Linked DNA regions of Homo sapiens: all the other regions are linked to region 1. The links are contacts of gene promoters, found by promoter capture Hi-C in blood cells and fetal thymus (Javierre and others, 2016). All regions are on one chromosome and are shown on one strand. The core of a region is centred on a gene start or on the middle of the fragment in contact, and the rest is flanking DNA. Distances in the headings are between cores, read along the strand shown.

Region 1 (2,700 bases), core at 4-2,503:
ATTAGGAGGTGAACGGCGGCCGCAGGCCCACTCCACGCGGTTGCTGAAACCGAGCTGGGCGCGCGCGGGGGCCGAATCTCGCCGCCTCCGCGCTCCTGTCGGGGCAGCTCCCGATCCCGGGCTGCGCGGCTTCGGTCCCCAAGACGGCCACTTCCAGCCCTAGGCCCCTTGGCCGCAGCGCTTCCCAAACCAAGAGAGATCCTTTCTCAACTCAGAGCTTTTCATTAGCAGTCGTTAATAATGGCCCTGAGTTGCCTTATCATCTCCTGGAAATGAGAAATAAATTTCTTCGGAGAACGTTTCCCTTTGTAAAGGACAGAGAGTTTTAAAGATACAGGTATGATGTAAGACACATAAATACCTAGGTAAGCATTAGCAGAAATTCTCTTTTCCTTATATTTAAGTATAATAAACATACAAGTGTAGCTCAATGAATTTTCACAAACTGACATTCTGTGTAACCAGCAGCCTAAGAAACTGCTTTACCAACGATCCCCTAGCTCGCCTCCAGTTATGCACGCCAATAACCACTAGCCTAACTTCTACCACATGCCCATTACTTCTGTAGTTTAAAACTTCTGATTCTTGAATGTAAACGTTTAACAATAAATCGCTTGAATTTAACTCAAATTTCAAATGTAAGATGAAGTCAGAGATGCAGCCTGAATCTAGGATCATAATTTGTCTTGTGCGGAGGGCGAGTAATTTCCTTGGGCAAGAAAATAACTGGAGGTGACAGTTGTTTGGGGCTGCAGTCGTCCGGGCCAGGAGCACAGGGCGGGAAGGAATGGCCCATCTCTTAGGGCTCTCTGCTTGTCACCTACCAGGTTGGTCAGAAACGTTCTCATCAAAGCAATGGTTCTCTTTTCTTTTCTCTTTGGGACAGAAGGAGTTTCTTGACCGCCCTCTTCCCTGCAAATGCATAAACAACCACTGCTCCTGTCTCCAAGCTCAGATTCCTACCAAGATAGCCTTTTCTCTTCCCCTCTCTTTTGTAAGTCTCTTGATTTCATTCTTTGAACCTGTGATTGGAGGTTAAAGTGCACCAGGTTGGAAGGAGGAAGCTCTTAACAATAAAGGTTTGAATATTTAGCTGTGTCAGGTCGCTGCCCTCTCACGAGCCTCCCTCCCCTTTATCTTTTAAAATGCAAATTATGTTTCGAGGGGTTGTGCGTAGAGTGCGCGCTGCGCCTCGACGTCTCCAACCATTGGTGTCTGTGTCATTACTAATAGAGTCTTGTAAACACTCGTTAATCACGGAAGGCCGCCGGCCTGGGGCTCCGCACGCCAGCCTGTGGCGGGTCTTCCCCGCCTCTGCAGCCTAGTGGGAAGGAGGTGGGAGGAAAGAAGGAAGAAAGGGAGGGAGGGAGGAGGCAGGCCAGAGGGAGGGACCGCCTCGGAGGCAGAAGAGCCGCGAGGAGCCAGCGGAGCACCGCGGGCTGGGGCGCAGCCACCCGCCGCTCCTCGAGTCCCCTCGCCCCTTTCCCTTCGTGCCCCCCGGCAGCCTCCAGCGTCGGTCCCCAGGCAGCATGGTGAGGTCTGCTCCCGGACCCTCGCCACCATGTACGTGAGCTACCTCCTGGACAAGGACGTGAGCATGTACCCTAGCTCCGTGCGCCACTCTGGCGGCCTCAACCTGGCGCCGCAGAACTTCGTCAGCCCCCCGCAGTACCCGGACTACGGCGGTTACCACGTGGCGGCCGCAGCTGCAGCGGCAGCGAACTTGGACAGCGCGCAGTCCCCGGGGCCATCCTGGCCGGCAGCGTATGGCGCCCCACTCCGGGAGGACTGGAATGGCTACGCGCCCGGAGGCGCCGCGGCCGCCGCCAACGCCGTGGCTCACGGCCTCAACGGTGGCTCCCCGGCCGCAGCCATGGGCTACAGCAGCCCCGCAGACTACCATCCGCACCACCACCCGCATCACCACCCGCACCACCCGGCCGCCGCGCCTTCCTGCGCTTCTGGGCTGCTGCAAACGCTCAACCCCGGCCCTCCTGGGCCCGCCGCCACCGCTGCCGCCGAGCAGCTGTCTCCCGGCGGCCAGCGGCGGAACCTGTGCGAGTGGATGCGGAAGCCGGCGCAGCAGTCCCTCGGCAGCCAAGGTAAGCAGAGGCTGCGCCCCTTCGGAGGGTGCTTGGGAAGGCGCGGGTCGAGCCAGTGGCTGCTGCGCGTCGCGCGTCCAGTGCGCACAGGGGCGTCCCGGGCTGTCTGGGAGCTCGGCGCCAGGAGGGGCACGGCCCGGAGACAAATTCGGGGGCCTCTGGCCCGTCGGGGCTTCTCTGACCTACTGAGCCTGGGAGTGAATATTCTGAGTCTCAACACCGTGTTCAGGCGTCCTCTTTCCAAGAGCTCCTCATTCGCAACCCCGGGACACCTTCGGGAAGCTCCGGGGAATGTCGGCGTGAGCACTGCTGGACGCCGGCAGAATCGCGTCCTCCGGCACTTGCTGCGGCATGCATTCCTTGCGTGGCTCCTGGCCGCCGAGGAGAGAGGGAGGCTCGAACCTTCTTGGGCTAGGTCTAGGCCATTTATCTCCGCTCTCTCTTTCCCCATCTGAGCCATCTAAGAAGAGAAGTGACCTGGGGGGGTCGGAGGATGGCTAGGCTGTGTGTGGGACCGGGTTTGGCCACTCGGGCCAATTCAAGGTACAGCGAGCAGGCAGACCAGGGAGAGCTGCTGTCGCTGGGAAGAAGGTGCTAG
Region 2 (2,704 bases), core at 123-2,622, 670 kb after region 1:
TGGGAGACAACAGAGCGTAGTTAGCCTCAGGTGGGGACCAAAATGTCGTGTTCACTACTGTACCTCCCCGTTGGCATAGCGTCAGACAGATGCTACAAATATTTGTTGAGTGGAAGGAAGAGAAAGAGGAAAGAAAGGAGAGAGAGATAGGGAGGATGGGAGGGAGGAAAGGAGAGAGAGAACAAGGAACAATCTTGATCAAATCCTAGCTGTTTACTAAATGTATGACCTTGAGCAAATAACTCAGCCTCCTTGTCCCTGGACCTCAATATCCTTATCCATAAAATGAGGCGCTCTCCCCAGGTCGTTGTGAGGATTGAATGAGACCATATATGTAAAATGCTTAGCAAAGGGCCTGATTCATAACAAGTGGCCCATAAGTGCTACTGTGATGACTATACTCTCCAGGGTCATACAGCCGGTGAGGAGCTGAGGCTACAAATATCCAAGGTCTTTCTCTCTGCTGTTGGAAGCTCCCCTGGCATACCCTGGGTTCTCACTGCCCTAAGAGCCCTTTCCCCTCTGGTGAGCACAAGTTCTGTACTGAAAACTGCCAGCCCCATTGTTTCCGTGAGCTTGAAAACCTCTTCGGAGCAGCAGGCTCTGATACATGCAAAGAAGGAGCAGACAGAACCATTAAGACACACTCAGCCTGAATCACTGTCCTCCTCAGCAGGGCTTTGCGGCAGCCTGAGGAGATACTGTTCTCAGCCACTGGACCAGATTGCTCAGGGAGCAGGAGGATGCAGGAAGCACAGGCCACCCGCTCCTGCTGTTACTGACCTAGTTTGGACCGCTTTGCTGGGAATGTGAAGCCAAACCAGATGGAGGGACACCAGGAACCGCTGATGCTAGCTGGAGGGATAGGAGCTCGGGCTCCAGGGAGCTCAGACTTCGGGGCATTCCAGGGCTTGATTTGGGGCACAGAGTGCTCACTTGGTGGGGGGGGATGGCAGTCGTCTTAGTCAGCCCGGCTGCTATAACAAAACACAACAGACCAGGCGGCTTACATAACAGTAGTTTCTTGCCATTCTGGTTACTGGGACATCCAAGCTCAAGGCTCTGGCAGATTCGATGTCTGGGGAGGGTCTTCCTCCTGTTTCCTGGATTATACCTCCTCACCGTGTCCTCACGGGGCAAAGAGAGGAAGCCAGCTCTCTGGTGTCCCTTCCTATAAGGACACCAATCCCGCTATGAGGGCCCCACCCTCAGGACCCCATCTAATTCTAATCACCTCTAAAGGCCCCACCTCCCAATACCATCACATTAGTGGGGAAGGTTTTGAATTATGAATTTTGGAAGGACACAATGGTTCTGTCCCTGTGGCAGGTAACAACCTTCCTGGCCTCCATGTGGTCTTGACCATCCTGACCACAGACAGAGGCCTCTCAGTGAGGGGCAGTTATGGCATAGTAGCAAAGAGAGCAGAGCCTGCAGCCAGACTGCCTGGGTGTGAAGGTTGAGTCTGCCTCTTGACAGCTGTGTAATCTTGGGCCAGCGATATAACTTCTCCACACCTCAGTCTCTGCATCTGTAAAGTGCAGGTGACAATAACAGGACTTAACGTCATAAGGGTGTTAGATGTGAATCCATGTACAGCATTTACATAGAAAGGTGCCTGGATCATCATCAGCACTGCATAAGTGGTTGCTGTCAAAATCTTACTATGTCACCAGATAAGCCAGTTTAATGCTGGTGACGGGACAACCAAGGGCACAGAGTTCTTAATGTTTGCCCAAGGCTTGGGAGAGCGTAGGAGTGGTGACTGAAAGAAGGCTCTCATCTCTGTGCTCCCTCATCCTTACTATGAGACCCTGCACGTGGCACCTCATCTTTCTGAGCCCCAGTTTCCTCCTGAAAATGAAAATAATAGCTTCACTCTGCCTAAATCGCAGGGTTCTTTGATGACTAAATGAGTTAGCATTCATGAAAAATGTTTGAACACTCCAGAATGCCAAGTGTGATGACCAGCCTGAGACTCCTTTTGCCTCTAGGGATGGCCGTGCCATCAGCGGGTGGATGAGCCCAGACCCCAACACTGGCAATTCATTCCTCACCTCTTCCCATGCCCTTGGAAGTGGCAAAGCGTGTGCACGTGAGCACCTATGTTGGAGTGATGAGACAAGCCAGCGGAGACAGTGGATCAGAGAACACTGAATCAGCTGGGAACGTGGGAGTTGAGTGGGTGGGCCTGGAGAGTCATGCATTTGTCATTTTCTATTGAACAAAGGTACAAGCAAATATAAAAATACCTAAGGAAGACACATGACTATTATTAAAAGTTTAATGGCAAAATTCTTCCAGCTCCTCTTTGTTTCAAAGTGGAAAGAGTCACTTCGAGATGGACATTTGCATCCCTTCCATAAGGAAAGAGAACAGCCCCAGGTCCTCCTTGGAGTGCAGATTATGATCTGGAGGCATGGGTTTGTGCACGATGCCTTCCAGCATTAGAGAGGGGATGAGCCATGTATGTATTTCTCCACAACAAACCTCATCAAAGGAGTATCAACTGGCTGGGGCTGCCATTACAAAGTACCATAGCCTGGGAGGCTTAAACAACAGACATTTATTTTCTCACAGCTCTGGGGGCTGGAAGTCCAAGATGAACATGCCGGCAGAGTTTCTTCTCCCAAGGCCTCTCTCTTTGGCTTGTAGATATCCCCCTTTTCCCTGTGTCTTCACACCATCTTCCCTCTGCATATCT
Region 3 (2,700 bases), core at 28-2,527, 970 kb after region 1:
GAAGAGGATGCAGTACTTTGGTGTATTCAACATCTTTTCCAACCTCCTCCCAGTGTGCCTTTCTCTCCTGCAGAAGCTGGAAAGGTGAGGACTGTATTTCCTAGACTCCATGAAATGTAGATTCCAACTTAGGCTCTGCTTAAGTCAAATGTAGGTGACCTGAGCTAGTGCAGAGTGAGGCAGGGAGAGTGGTGGCAGGGGGCAGGTGTTCACTTCTGCAGCTGGGTCCAGCAGGTGTGGGTCTAGGGGTCGTGGCTCCAGCAGGTGTTGGTCTAACGAGTTTGGCTCCAGTAGACGTGGGTCTAGGAGGTGTGGCTTCAGCAGGTGTGGGTCTGGCAGACGTAGCTCCAGCAGGTATGTGTTTAGCAGGTGCAGTGTAGCTCTGCAGTTGTAGTTGCAGCTGTGGCCTGTGGACACTGGACTGCTGCCTGTACGTTGTGTTCTGAGGCCAGCAGGTGCAGCTCATCTTCTGATTCCCCAGCTTCCTCACTGAAGTAGAGGTAACGGCTCCCCTGGTGAGTGAGCTCTGCAGTGACACTCTGCGAATTCCTCCTCAAGACCCAGGCCATGACCTGCTCCTCCAGCCCATCTAATGACTTGTGAGCAGATAATTCTCTGTATTAGGTGCTTTTCTTCTCAAAAAAGCAAGAGTGACTTCTTTCATGTTTTGTTGAACTCTGAATACAAAAGGCCACGCTGATCAAGTCACTTTCCAGCTCATTGACCATAGAATGATACCCAACATCCTTCATGTGCCTACTGTCCCTCGATGACTTAGACCCTTGCCTCCTTTGGGCACACATCACTCCCTTTTCTCTTCTAGTGACTCCCCCTCATCATCCAGATCACAGCCTAATGTCACTTCCCCAGAGAAGCCTCATTCTACGATTGCCAAAACCAAGCCCCACAGACCGGGTGGCACCAACAACAGGTACGAGTTTTCTCCCAGTTCCAGAGGCTGAAAGTCCAAGGTCAAGGTGTCAGCAGTGGTGGTTCCTTCTGAGGCTCTGAGGGAAGGATCTATTCCCAGCTACTCTCCTGGGCTTTTAGAAGGCCAACTTCACGTCCACACGGCTTTCTTTCTGTGTGTGTCCAAATTTCCCCCTTTTATAAGGACACCAGTCTTATTGGATTAGGGCCTGCCCTGATGACCTCATTTAACTGAGTCAATCTGCCATGACCCTACTTACAAGTCCAATTCCACTGTCAGGTGCTGGGGGTTAGGACTTCACCCTATGAGTTTGGGAGGATGCACACAGTTTATCCTCTAACAGCCAGGTTCTCAAGGTCTAACTTCTCCTCAAACTCTGCTTCTTCGTCAAAGCAGTCAATTCGGTGTGCGACGGTGCAGCTGCTGGTTGGTTAACATTTGTCCTCAGCTAGGGAGACTGTGTTGGATGATCCCCCAGTGCTTAGCACAGGGCCTCGGGCAGAGCAAGTGCTGAAGAGGTATTCGTTGGATTTGTGGATGAATGAGTTGAGGAATAAATGATTATTTCTAATAGCTGATGAAAGACCTAAAAGGCCAATGATAAGCAAGTGGCCAAATCACCCAAGACACAGTTGTTTATTACACAGCTGTTAAAATGTCTCTGAAGACTTTGTGACAATGTGGGAAAATGCTTATGATCTGACATTGAATGACATGGTAGAATACAACCGTTTATGGAATATTACATGAAAAAAGAACAGAAAAATGAGAGTCCAGTGTTGAACTCACAAAAACAAAAAATCATGTATAAATTGTGATCAGATTTTCCACATTAAATGTATTAGTTCTTCTCATTCATTAAATAAATAACTTCAGGTCAAAGCTAAAGAAAAATTAGCATCCTTAAACATTGGGATCCTATGAACTATCCTTTATTCATTTTGGAGTAAAAGATGGGATGGCAGGAAACACACAGGGCCTCATTTCTGCTTCTTTGGGCAAATCTTATTTTTAGTAACTCGCTTTGCCATTAATAAAACCACGTCTGATCATATGTAAAAATGATGTGTTTGAACTTCTTATTTTGCATACTTGCTCTTTAAAATTTTTTAAAAACATTTTTTCTTCAGAACTAATGCATGCTCATTAAAAAATTAAATATCAAAGTAAAACAAAAACTTAAAGCATCCTAAAATTGTGCCTCAAAGCCATAACCATTAATTACATTTTGGTAATATTCCTCCAGAATTTATTCTAAATATACAGATCTGTATATTTATTCTAAATATACAGATATACTAGAGTATAATACACACACACACAAGCATTATGCAGAAATGAATCCACACTCCATGAGGTCACAAACTGCTTTTTCATTTTAAGATATTTGTTGCCCATATCTGATGGTGTGGTCCGTATGCCCCCACAATCCTACTCTTTTTACCCAAGCAGCAACTCAGATGCGGAATCATCAACCTAGGGTCTGAGAGAAGCAGCTGAGATACAGGAAGGGGCCTGGCCATCTTCCCAAGGGCAGAATGAGCATGCCCTGGGTCCCCGACTGGGTCACACTCTGCTGCTCTGTGAGCTGGCTGCCTCTCTTTGTCAGGAAGACCAAGTTCACCGCCACGTGTGCTGGGGTGATTGGATGGGCCATGTGTGGCATCCTGGTTGGGTGGAAGCTGCCATGTAAGTAGTAAAAGAACAGAGCCAGAGCTGTCCTGCGCTTACTAGAGTTAAAGTCCCGCCATGTTTTGCAGAATTATCTA

The links. Contacts are between HindIII fragments. The CHiCAGO score rates a contact against its expected background, and 5 or more counts as called.
Region 2: a contact is called between a fragment that was not itself captured here and the fragment with the promoter of CDX2 in region 1, in 1 of 17 cell types (M2 macrophages). The highest score is 5.0, in M2 macrophages.
Region 3: a contact is called between a fragment that was not itself captured here and the fragment with the promoter of CDX2 in region 1, in 5 of 17 cell types (non-activated CD4 T cells, naive CD4 T cells, total CD4 T cells and 2 more). The highest score is 8.4, in non-activated CD4 T cells.

Annotation. Positions count from the first base shown.
Region 1 is chr13:27,967,868-27,970,567 of GRCh38, reverse strand. It overlaps CDX2 (caudal type homeobox 2), which reads left to right and starts at 1,253. Exons shown (of 3, transcript NM_001265.6): 1 at 1,253-2,102. The coding sequence starts at 1,562. RefSeq lists an enhancer at 1,327-2,018. The HindIII fragment of the contact is 4,126 bases long and covers 1-2,700 here.
Region 2 is chr13:27,294,741-27,297,444 of GRCh38, reverse strand. No RefSeq gene overlaps it. Among named protein-coding and RNA genes, the nearest start is that of RASL11A, 25 kb to the right of the region's middle. The HindIII fragment of the contact is 3,197 bases long and covers 1-2,704 here.
Region 3 is chr13:26,999,517-27,002,216 of GRCh38, reverse strand. No RefSeq gene overlaps it. Among named protein-coding and RNA genes, the nearest start is that of USP12-AS1, 120 kb to the left of the region's middle. The HindIII fragment of the contact is 2,857 bases long and covers 1-2,700 here.